2 separate regions of the Homo sapiens genome follow, and region 2 is linked to region 1. Evidence: promoter capture Hi-C in 16 types of primary human blood cells and fetal thymus (Javierre and others, 2016). All regions are on one chromosome and are shown on one strand. The core of a region is centred on a gene start or on the middle of the fragment in contact, and the rest is flanking DNA. Distances in the headings are between cores, read along the strand shown.

The links. The method cuts DNA at HindIII sites, captures the fragments that hold promoters and counts their contacts. A CHiCAGO score of 5 or more calls a contact.
Region 2: a contact is called between the fragment with the promoter of RNF186 here and the fragment with the promoter of EMC1 in region 1, in 1 of 17 cell types (total CD4 T cells). The highest score is 5.8, in total CD4 T cells.

Annotation. Positions count from the first base shown.
Region 1 is chr1:19,249,042-19,255,157 of GRCh38, forward strand. EMC1 (ER membrane protein complex subunit 1) reads right to left here and starts at 2,483. Exons shown (of 23, transcript NM_015047.3): 1 at 2,374-2,483. The coding sequence starts at 2,468. It overlaps MRTO4 (MRT4 homolog, ribosome maturation factor), which reads left to right and starts at 2,764. Exons shown (of 8, transcript NM_016183.4): 1 at 2,764-2,822; 2 at 5,741-5,799. The coding sequence starts at 2,795. RefSeq lists enhancers at 2,396-2,901, 4,718-5,219, 5,220-5,719 and a silencer at 5,011-5,156. The HindIII fragment of the contact is 6,293 bases long and covers 1-6,116 here.
Region 2 is chr1:19,814,033-19,820,148 of GRCh38, forward strand. RNF186 (ring finger protein 186) reads right to left here and starts at 1,251. Exons shown (of 1, transcript NM_019062.2): 1 at 1-1,251. The coding sequence starts at 1,069. The coding sequence ends at 386. RNF186-AS1 (RNF186 antisense RNA 1) reads left to right here and starts at 377. Exons shown (of 2, transcript NR_186008.1): 1 at 377-521; 2 at 5,211-5,470. RefSeq lists an enhancer at 2,712-3,243. The HindIII fragment of the contact is 1,953 bases long and covers 1-1,428 here.

The sequences.
Region 1 (6,116 bases), core at 1,233-3,732:
AAATATATTTTTGTACAGCTGTAAAGTCTGTGTTTTATACTAAGTATTATTACAAAAGTCAAAAATTAAAAAAATAAAATGTTTGTAAAGTAAAAAAGTTACATTAAGCTAAGGTTAACTTATTATTGAAGAAATTTTATAAATTTAGTATAGTCTAAATGCACAGTATTTATAAAGTCCACAGTAGTGTACAGTAATGTCCTAAGCCTTTACATTTACTCACCAACCACTTACTGACTAACCCCAGAACAACTCCTAGTTCTGCAAGATACATTCATGTTAAGTGCCCTATACCAGTGTACCATTTTTTATCTTTCATATCCTATTTTTACCATACATTTTCTATGTTTAGATACACAAATATTTACCATTGTGTTACAATTGCCTACAGTTTTCAGTAAAGTAACATGCCGTACAGGTTTGTAGCCTAGGAAGAATAGGCTGTACCATATAGCCTAGGTGTGTAGTAGGCTAAACCATCTAGATTTACATAAGTACATGCTACAACGTTTGCACAAGAGGGCATTTCTCAGGATGTATTCCCATCATTAAGTGATGCATACCTGTATGTCTTCATTTATTTTTCAATCTGAAAACTGTAGGCCAGGTGCAGTGGCTCACACCTGTAATCCCAGCACTTTGGGAGGCCGAGGCAGCCAGATTGCTTGAGCCCAGGTGTTCAAGACCAGCCTGGGCAACATGGCAAAACCCCGTCTCTACAAAAAATACAAAGAAACTGGAGAGGTGTGCACCAGTAGTCCCAGCTACTCAGGAGGCTGAGCTGGGAGGGTCACTTGAACCTGCAAGGTCAAAGCTGCAGTGAGCCATGATAGTACTGTACTCCAGCCTGGGCTACAGAATGAGTCCCTGTCTCAAAAAATTTTAAAAAGTCTTGGCTGGGCGCAGTGGCTCCCACCTGTAATTCCAACACTTTGGGAGGCCTAGGCGGGTGGATTACCTGAGATCGGGAGTTTGAGACCAGCCTGACCAACATGGAGAAACCCTGTCTCTACCAAAAATACAAAAATTAGCTGGGTGTGGTGGCGCATGCCTGTAATCCCAGCTACTCGGGAGGCTGAGGCAGGAGAATCGCTTGAACCCCAGAGGCGGAGGTTGTGGTGAGCCATGAGATCGCGCCATTACACTCCAGCCTGGGCAACAAGAGCAAAACTGTCTCAAAAAAAAAAAAAAAAAAAAAAAAAAAAAGTCTTAAACAGAGTCCTTTTCCCCCCTCATCAGCCTAACCTGGCCCTGGGCTCAGAGCAGAGCTGCCCAAGACACTAAGCAGTTAGGAAATGCCATTCATTCATTCATTCATTCATGAAAATAAAATTAAGAAAATTGCATATATCAAGTATTCTGCAAAATTAGATACACATATCACCCGATATATATGTGTAACATACACATATGACATTGTGAACAGTTGTGCACATCATTAAAAATGTAACATGTTTTATTTGTCACACTGTCTGGCATAACAGGTACTCAACATATATGCGAATCAACTTTTCCAAGACAGAAAATACTTCAGAGGAGGAGAAATCTGACCTGGGCCCTGAAGAATAAAGTGTAAATAGCAATAATAACAGATAACGCTTAATGACTGCATTCAATGAGCCAGGCATTGTGCTAAGTAATTTAATGGGATTGTCTCATTCATTCTCACAAGTACTGTAAGAGATAACGGACTGTTAGTAAACCCATTCTACAGACAAAGAAACCAAGGCACAGAGTGGTTAAGTCACTTTCCCCAAGATCACACAAGTCTTAACTAGTAAAATTCAAACAAAAGCAAGCTACTCCAGGGCCTTAAGGAAGACGTGGGTGGGTGAATGAATGAATGAGTGAATGGCATATTCTAGCTGCTTAGTGTTTTGGGCAATCCTGCTGTGAGCCCAGGGCCAGACTAGGTTGATGAGAGGGGAAAAGGACTCAGTTTAGGACTTTTAAGACGAAAGCTCCTGTTCACTTGCCTACAAGACACCAATTCGAGTAGGAATTAAAGTTCACTGACAGCTTGGCGACCTCTGACACCTGGTAGACCAGAAACCTCACAGTCAAAAAAATCGAACCTGACGAGGGAGGACGGGATCAGTGATCTCTGACCGGCACCCCAAGCATTCCTGGATGGCAGGGCCGGCTTACACGCAAGGATCAGCTTAGAATGACCCCTAACACTTGGTTTAAGGCTCTGCTTCCAACGACTTTAAATCCTTAATAATTTTTTAACAAGGGGCCCCACGTTTTCATTTTGTACTGGGTCCTGCAAATTATGCGGCCAATCCTGTTAAGTGACAACCTTTAGCAGGTAGGAGACAGGTACTGGGGAAACAGCCACTTATCTCTCGAATATGTTCCACACGTACGCACCAATCAAACTTGCCCACTTGGTCTTCGTAGACCGCGGCCGCAGGAATCAGCAGCGTAGCCCAAAGCCAGAAACGAGAAGCCCACTCAGCCGCCATGATGCGAGCGCATGCACCACCCACCGCCGTCCCGGCATGCACCGCGCCGCGGGCTCCGCCTCCGCGGGACCACAGAGCTGGGATAGCGCGCGAGGCCCTCGGTCGGACGGGACGCTCGGGATTCAGGGACTGCCTCGGCACACGGGAAGTTGCCCTACAGGCGCGGGAGAAAGCGCAGGCGGCGGCTTGGCAGGGAGAGGCAGGCTGCAGTGCACATTGGGTCAGGCACACGCGAGGGGCAGCCCCCGAGGGCCGTCCCAGAGTCCCCCGCGCCGCCGGGGTCCTAACGGGGTGCACCGTCTTCCGCCGCACGTGGATTCAGCGCGATGCCCAAATCCAAGCGCGACAAGAAAGGTGGGCGAAGGGGGAGTCGGGACCCTGGGGGGAGCTCCGTGGGCTGGCTACCCAGCCTGCGGTGAGGGCTTCGGGGCGGCGGGGGCGCAGATTGGAACGCCAGGACATCCTCGAGGTGTTCCGCTGCCTCGCTGCGAGCTGGAATGGGGGCTTCGGGGCTGTAAAACCGCCAGAGGTGGCTGACGCCCGGTCGGGTCTGGGGAGCGGAGACTCGTTTTGCCTAGTTTCAGGTGCTCTTGCAAGGCCAACTGGGTCGGGAGGCAGCTCCTGAACACCGCCCCCGGCTATGCCTGCTGCCGTTTCGGCCCACTTTTCCCAACTTCGGCCCTTTCTCATCTTCCTGCGCTCCCGCCACCCTGGCTGCCTTTCCCTTCTTTCAGCACAGGTTTGTTCCCGTGTCTGGCGTTGTGTGTCTGCGGTTGTTTCTGCCTGGCATGCTTACATCTTCGTATGGTTTGCGCCTTCTTAGTTGTCAGTTAATAGGATCCCTCTGAGACAGGGTCTCGCTCTGTTGCCCAGGCTGGAGTGCAGTGGCGCGATCGTAACACTGCAGGCCGGATGCGGTGGCTCACGCCTGTAATCCCAGCACTCTGGGAGGCCGAGGCGGGCGAATCATCTGAGGTCGGGAGTTCCCGACCAGCCTGGCCAATATGGTGAAACCCCTTTTCTACTAAAAATACTAAAAATTAGATGGGCATGGTGGCAGGTGCCTGTAATCCCAGCTACTTGGGAGACTGAGGCGGGAGAATCGCTTGAATCCGGGAGGCGGAGGTTGCAATGAGCCGAGATCGCTCCACTGTACTGCAGCCTGGGCACGACAGAGCGAGACTCCGTCTCAAAAATAAATAAATAAAATAAGTCACTGCAGCCTTGACCTCCTTGGCTTAAGCGATCCTCCCACCTCAACCTCCCGAGTAGCTGAGACTACAGGCGCACGCCACCACACCCAGCTAGGTTTTTTTTGTTTATTTTTTATAGAGAAGACTCAGTGTGTTGCCAAGCTGGTCTCGAACACCTGGGCTCCAACCACCCTCCCTGAGTGCTGGGATTACAGGCGTGAGCCACTACACCCGACTTGCGCACCTCTTAAGAGACCGTTTTTGACCACCTTTGCTGTGGTGGCCTCTCTCTTAACCCGGCTCCCTGGAATATTCAAAAATATTTAGGGGTCTGGCACTTTCTAGGCGTTAGAGGATACAGCAGTCACAAGGAAAGCCTATTTCTTATCGAGCCTAACGTTTTAGGAGAAACATATTCCGCAAAATGCTAAAAATCAGATTGAAAATGGGGTGAAGAGATGTTGATATTTTGTATAGTGTGGTCGGGAAAGGTCTCACTGATGAAGTGACAAATGAGCAGAAAATAAAGAAAGGAAGCGAGCAACCTGTGGAATTGAGCAGCTGTGGAATTATCTGGGAGAATGCTGTTCCAAGTAGAGGGAACCTGAAGTGAAAAGGCTCTGAAATGGGAGCAGATATGACGTGTTTGGGACAAGAGGCCAGTGAGGCTGGAGCAGAAGGAGCCAAATAGAGTTTGGGGAGGGAGTTAGGCAGAGAGGGCAGGACTTCCTCGGCCTTGGCAAGGCATTGGCTTTCCTGCCCAGGTGAAGTGAGTAGCAGAGGACCCATGTGATTTACCTTTACTTATGAAGGGTCACTCTGGTTGCCTTGGTGAGAATAGTTGGGGAAGACAGGGCAGAGGGCAGGAATGGAAGCAGTGAGACCAGCATTAATCCAAGACAGGGTGATGCTGGCTTGAGCCAAAGGTATAACAGTGGAAATGATGGGAAGTGGCCCGCTATATTTCGTTTGCCCTCCTCTGCTCCACTTACCATTGACTGATGTCATTGTCTTTGTCTGTGTGGTACCTAGTTAAGAGGGGCTGAGTGCGGGCAGGTTAAAGAAGAGAGGCCTGGGTCCCTTTGTGAAGGCGCCCGGGGCTTTGCAGTTGGAGTTCTGTTAAGTGTTTCTGGAACGATTTGATTCTGTGGAGGGGCCTGGGTCAGGTCTGGCAAATGCCAAACTCTGTGGGTAGAGGGCAAATTGGGCCCCAGCCATTTTTACAGTAGAGGTACATGTTCCTCCCCAGAGAGGTGTTGCTGCGTCTTTGGGTCCAAATTGCAATACTGGGGTGCAGATACATACCAGGAGATTCAGTCCCCAGCCTCATGGTTGCACAGCATAGGCCAGCTAGAGTGGCCTCTGCATCATGGTCAAGAGCAGCAAGGGGCCAGGCATGGTGGCTCACACCTATGATTCCAACACTTTGGGAGACTGAGGTAGGCAGATCTCTTGAGCCCAGGAGTTCGAGACCAACCTGGGCAACATGGCAAAAGCCATCTCTGCAAAAAATACAAAACTCACCTGGGCATGGTGGTGCATTTCTGTGGTCCCAGCCAAAATTAGCAGGCCATGGTGGTGTGTGCCTGTAGTCCTGTGTGGGAGGATTGCCTGAGCCTAGGAGCTCAAAGTTGCAGTGAGCCCAGATCGTGCCATTGCAGTCCAGCCTGGGTGACAGAGTGAGACCCCATGTCAAAAAAAAAACAAAAAACAGGGGCCTGCCTCAGCCAGCAGGTGAGGTCTGCCACTGAGAGCACTTCTAGCAGCAGGAACAGCCTCCACCCCCACACTGCAATCAAGTTTTTTGGGTCAGCCTTAGGAGCTAAGAAAGGCCTAGTTTGTCTAAATAGCAGGAGTTATATCCAGGGATCTTCAGGCCCAGGAATGCTAATGAGTAGGCATTCCATGGGCCCTGGGAATGGCTTTGTGTGCCAGAAATGATGGCCACAAAGGCCTTGCTGCCTTTTTTCAGAATGGCTGCATCCAGCTGAGTGCTCTCTGCCAAAGGGGAGAAGAAAATAAGTCTCCAGTGCATTTAGATTGGTCTCTCATCATCTCTCTCCTTTTTGTTTTTATTAGTCTCCTTAACCAAAACTGCCAAGAAAGGCTTGGAATTGAAACAAAACCTGATAGAAGAGGTAAGAGGTTGTTCTTTTCTAGAGCTTGCAATTGTTTGGTTTATAAAGGTAGGTATAGGACTGTTGGCCAGGGATAGGACTGTTGGCCAGGGGAACATACTAGTGGGGAAAAAAAAAAAATCTCCAAGCTGCCAATCCAGGCCTTTTTCCTCCAGCAGCAGCACCAGCAAAAACTTCCATAGTGATGATTTCCAGCTTTGACTAGCTCGTACTCTGTGCCCTGTCCTGCACTGTGTTTCTTATGCGTTGTTCCACTCCATCCTCATAACATCCCTGTGATGTGGGTACTAGGTGATGATGTTGCTGTTTTGCATTTG
Region 2 (6,116 bases), core at 1-2,500, 560 kb after region 1:
TTGCAAAAAGAATGGAATTCCAGTTCTATTCTACAATGGCATCAATACTGCAATACTTTCATCAAGTTATATAAAGAAAAACCAAGAACATTGGAATAAGAGGAACAGGAGCTTCCCCCATCTTGTCATGTTCAAGTAGTTTGTGTCTGCTCCCCTAGCCACCAACAGTTTTAGCTATGCTATCCCAAGGGCAAGTGCAAGCCTGTCATCCAAGCGTGTAATTCTTGACCCAGGCTGGCCATCTCGGTTGTGGCTTGCAAGTCCCGCTGGCATGTGATTTCCCAAAGGAGCCAGTCTTAGTCCGTAACCCCTTACCCTGTTCATTGTGGAAGTCCGGGGGCCCAAGGGCAGAAAGGGCTGCAGGGATAGCCTCATCAGAGGGCACTCAGGCAATGGAAGAGATGTGGCTGTGTTTCTGCTCTCTGCAGAAGAGAGTCCTGGAGGAGGGCCAGCAGCTGCCCCGGGTGCTGGGGAGACAGCAGAAGAGGGTGGACATCAGCAGGGCCAGGGCGATGATGAAGGTGAGCACCCATCGTAAGACACCCGGGTAGATGAAGGGCCCGATGAGGATAATGAGCAAGGCCAGCAGGAGTAGGTGCGCGGCCAGGCGCCGGGCTGCCACGTGGTTTGCACTTACTTCATCCTGTCCATCCTCTCCCACCAAGCTGGGGTGTCCTGCTGCCAAGTCAGCAGGATCCACCAGCCCCTGAGGACAGAGCGATACCTCTGTGCATGGCTGGGCCAGCTGCCCCACCACCGCCTCATGGTCGCGCAGGCTGCAGATGAGGCCCCCGGGGACGGCGGTGACCTTGCGGCACAGCGGGCAGGTGATGGACCAGGTGTTGTCCTGCACGCACAGCAGGAGCTTCAGGCAGATGGCGCAGAAGGCATGCTGGCAGGCCAGCAGCTTGGGCAACCGGGGACAGCTGTAGGGCTCCCGGCACACCAGACACTCCAGGTCACATTCTGTGGAGCCAGAATGACCCCCAGCAGGGGCCACAGCGGTGGTGGTTGTGGTGGCTCCTGCGGAGATGGGCTGGGACTGTTGCAGGGTCTTGGTGCAGGCCATTCTGGGCACAGGGACCGGTGGGACACTGTCGCTCAGCACCTGGGCATTGGCAGAGAGTGTCAGCTGGCGCCGCTGGGACTTGGATGGAATCTGCCCCTCCTTTTCACTCTGGCCAGGTGCCTGTTGACAACAGCTGTCTGACACTCCTCTCTCCCAGAGCTGCCCAGCTTGTTTCTTGGCTTACGTCGTCCCTTCAGTTATTATTATTTATTTTCTCAAAACCTAGGGTTAATCAGTAACTTGCGGGTCTGGAGACTTTGAATTGCCTGATAGGAGGGCAAAGTGGGCAAGGGTCTAGTGAATCAGGACTTTCCTGTTGGGGCCAGGTACCTGGTGGGTGCCCACAGAACTGTGGCTCAAGCTTTAGGAGGCAGCAGAATCCAACTCTCTCACCCCCACTTCCCAGGTCCCTGAACCTTTTATTAATTTTTTTTATTTAACTTTTTTTTTTTTTTTTGAGACGGAGTCTCGTTCTCTCAGGTTGGAGTGCAGTGGCCCGATCTTGGCTCACTGGCATCTACAAATCTGCACAATAAACAGACAGCCCTATGAGTCGGACATAGGTGGATTGGTGGACACTGCTTTCTCAGACACAAACTTTTGGATGTCAGGATGAGTGGAAAAAAGTTTGTTTGCACTTGGAGCACATTTACAGGCAGGTGGCCTTGGAAAGAGGAGGGGAGAGGTAAGAAAAGTGAGTGGAAGGAGGACAAAGCCCAACCCAACGCAGAAAAACAAAACCACATACAGCGCACAGGTGTTTGGCACCTGCTACTGTATTCATTTCCTTAGAGCCACAGCTGTTGTATTCACAGTTACGGGTGTATGAACTTCCCATCGGTGCCCTGCTGCACACTTCACATGCCTAATCACAGGTGTCCTGTTTTGTGCTAGGCATGCTGCGTATCCAGTAGTACTAAGAACAGCTGCCATTTATTTGGGCCTACTCTAAGCCAAGCCCTGTGCCCGGGGTCCCCAGCCCCCATTTCCCGGAACCCTGATACAGCCTTGTAGGGAAGGCTGGGAAACAAGGGCAGGGTGTGGTCAGGGTAGGCTGCTGGCTGCCTGCCAAGGGGCCTTCCATGGAGCAGGACCTTGTGGAATCTACCAGCGTCCAAGGTCTGGTTGAATCAATTTCATTGGTTCATTTGGACACAACTGGCCCCAGCCGGGTGGCGTAGGCTAAGAGGACTCATGTGAGACAGGCAGATATTAGTAACACAGCAGTTAGGAAAACGTGATTTCCTTACTTTGCCCTCAAGGGCAAATGGCGGGGTGGCATGTGCACTCCCTCAAACAAATGTTTCATTCAGGCCACTCTGAACTCAGAAGCCCGTGTGAAGGATCCTTTGGTGCTCATGTCACCTGCCAAGGGCCACACAGAGTCCTGTGCCTCTGATTCAGCTCTTTCCCTTACCCCAGTAGCTGGCACTGCAGGCCACCCTCTGTGTCCTGGAGTCACCAGCCCCAAAGGGGCTCCCTCCCTTGTGGGATCGGTAACTCCCACCTCCCCACTCCCCCTGGGCCCTCTATCTCTGAAATCCAATACTCTCACCATCCCATCCCATTTCTTCTCAACCTGTAGCTAGACCATCAGTTACCTCTGTGAAAGGAAAATAAATCGTGGGGCCCCAAAATCACTAAGCCACAAGGGAAAGTCAAGCTGGAAACTGCTTAGGGCCAGCCTGCCTCCCATTCTATTCAAAGTCACCTCTCTGCTCACTGAGACAAATGCATATCTGATTGCCTCCTTTGGAGATGCTAATCAGAAACTCAAAAGAATGTAACCATTCTTATCCACCTGTGACCTGGAAGCCCCTTCCCCACTTCAGGTCTTCCTGCCTTTGCTTCAAGTTGCTCCACCTTTTCAGATGGAACCAATGTTCATTTTACATATGTTGATTGATGTCTCATGTCCCTCTAAAACGTATAAAACCAAGCTGTGCTCTGTCCACCTTGGGCACATGTCATCAGGACCTCCTGAGGCTGTGTCACGGACATGTGTCCTCAACCTTGGCAAAATAAACTTTCTAAATTAACTGAGACCTGTCTCAGATACTAAGGTATAGATACACATCTATATCACGTTTTCCCCCAGATCAAGCTGAAGGTGGCCTTGGATCTAGGCATGTTTTTTCCCCCATGCCTAGCATTCTTTCCCCTTTTTTGGGTAACAGTTCTCTGTTTTCACTTTGGGCAACCACTGCTTCCCACCGTCATTCTGTGCTCACGGAGAGGGTGATGTCTGGCTCCAGCTCTCTGGAAGTGGGGCCCTGATACAATTCAGGACAGGCCAGTTAGCATGCTCTGCTCTGCTAGCTGCAGCCATTGGTTTGAGCGTAGGCATATAATCGAAGCCAAGCCAATGAGATTCAATTCTGAGACTTCTGTTGGAGCCCTTGAGAAGTTTCTCTTTGTGCTGGGTTTCTAAGTTAGAGGATGGAACCCTGGGGCTGCCAGGACCACAGTGTGCAGAGAACCTGCTCAAGAGTAAGGTCAGCACAAAAGAAAAATGAGAAAAGAATCAGACAAAGGCCTGATGATGTTATTTGAACACCTGAAGCAGGACACCTAGCATTGGATTTTTTCAAGGATATTAACCTATAAAATCTACCCTGATTTTTATTCTTAAGTCAGTTCAAATTGAACTTCTGTCCCTTGCAAGTGAAAGACCTCTATGTAACACAGCAATGGATGAAGAAAAGAAGCCTTTACTTGCTCTCTGACAAAGGGTCAGGCATTGATGAGACAACCAGACTTTGTACACGGACAAGAGTGACCGAATGCCTGTGTGTTACCATGCTAGAAGAGATTCTGTGTTTTCTCTGCTTGGACTTGCATTGCATAATGTTATTTTCTGTTTGTGAGACCCTAGGATGGATTAGGGATGAGAGGAGAAAAATGTGTTGAGCCACATTCATTTATAATAAGAATAGAAAATCAGGTGGGCCACACAGTGATGTTGGCTTGGCCAGTGTCCCTCTCACTTTTTTTTGAGATAGAGTCTCGCTCTGTCTTGCCCAGGCTGGAGTGCGACCTCTGCCTCCCGGGCTCAAGCGATTCTCTTGTCTCAGCCTCCTGAGTAGCTGGGACTACAGGCGTGTGCCACCACACCCGGCTAATATTGTATTTTTAGTGGAGATGGGCTTTCACTATGTTGGCCAGATCGGTCTCAAACTCCTGACCTCAGGTGATTCACCTGCCTCAGCCTCCCAAAATGCTAGGATTACAGGCATGAGCCGCTTCACCCAGCCGGCCAGTGCCTCTCTCTCTAGCCAGCTTAATGGGAAATCAAATTGTCAGAAGGTAGCTGAGTGAGGTTGAAATCAGACCAAGGGAAGTTATTTGGGGTTAGAGCCTAAAAAATAACCTTTTAACATCATTGGGCAACCACCGTTAAGAAAACATATTGGCTGGAACAACCCAAGTATTACAGAAATAAAGTAGAATGTGAAAGTTCATCTTACTGCAACCCCTGAGAAATGACCACTGTTAACAGAGCATTCCTTCCTGTTGTCCTCCTCCTACCATCTTGGCTTAGGAACAACTTTGTTTCTCAAAAGTGCCTTGCCTTAACTATCACCAGCACTGACTATAGCTGGAAATCTGGCTCCTGTCACTTTACCAGCTATGTGACCTTGGGCAAGAATTTTAACTTCACTGCAGTTCAGTTTTAAAATTTGATAAAATGGAGGCCGGGCACAGTGACTCAAGCCTGTAATCCCAGCACTTTGGGAAGCAGAGGTGGGTGGATCGCTTGAGCTCAGGAGTTCGAGACCGGCCTGGGCAATGAGGTGCAACCCTATCTCTACTAAAAATACAAAAAATAGCTGGGCCTGGTGGTGCATACCTGTAGCCCCAGCTACTTGGGAGGCCGAGGCAGGAGGATAGCTTGAGCCTGGGAGGTCGCAGTTGCGTGAGCCAAGATCGTGCCACTGCACTCCAGCCTGGGTGACAGAGTGACACTCTGTATTTAAAAAAAAGTAAATAAAATAAAATAAAACAAAATGGAGACGTTAACACTTGAGGAAATTATGGATTATTTAAGCCCTCCACCCCTGACTACAACCTGCTCACAGGAGGCTTAGTAATTTATGTACTTTGGGTTGTAACTGACCTAGGTGAAATTGATCTCTTCCAGGGACATGAGATAAGACACTTTGGTGACTGATTCGGCCAATGCTTCTTGAAGAGGAGTGAATATGGGCAGAGTCTGAGGTGGAGCCTGAAGCAGATCTACCCCAGGGGAATTCAAAAGTGTCTCCGGAGACTTAAAATGTTAAATTCATCTAGGTTTCACATTCTTCTCCATGTTCTATTTGTGCTTACTGCAACATTAGAATCCCGAAGCATGCACGAATCCTTCCAAATCTCCAAATAAAACATATTTGTTTGTTTTAATTGCTGTACAAATATGAACTCATTAATCTTGAGTAAAGCTTTTTTTTCTTTTTTCATTTGAAATGCAGTTTCTTCCATCTTATGGCTTCTCACAGCCCTGGGGTCATACGCACTCCATCGTGAGAAACACAGTCTCATGTTGGGGTGAAATTTCAAGCCTAGCTGCAGGCTGGGGAGCCGGAGCCAGTCCAGTTGAGGAAGATCATGTTGGAAATCACATGTGCAAGGAACCACACACCCATGTACCTTTGCAAAAACATGTCTGATCTGAATTTTAGGCCTCCCGTCAAGTCAGAAAGGAGTCAGGTGGCAGCACTGTTCTGAGATCAAACTGTCCACTCATCTTTGGCCTCTGTCCTGATCAGCTGACCCTCACCCCACACTCCAGTGAACACAGGGAGCCAGGTCCCAGCCAAACGCCGAGTTGCTCTCCACTCCTCCTTGCCTTGGGCTGAATGGAAACCATCTCAGCTCACACTCTTGTCCCAGAATTCTCGCCTCTGTGCTCCTTAGAGCATGGCAGGCTCCATCCCTATTTTCAGCCCCCCACCCCCACCCCCACCCCTCACCAAGAATCTGCGTGTCTGAGGATAGATTGCCAAGGAGACAGAAGAAAGGGATCTGGAACCAAAATAACAATAATGAG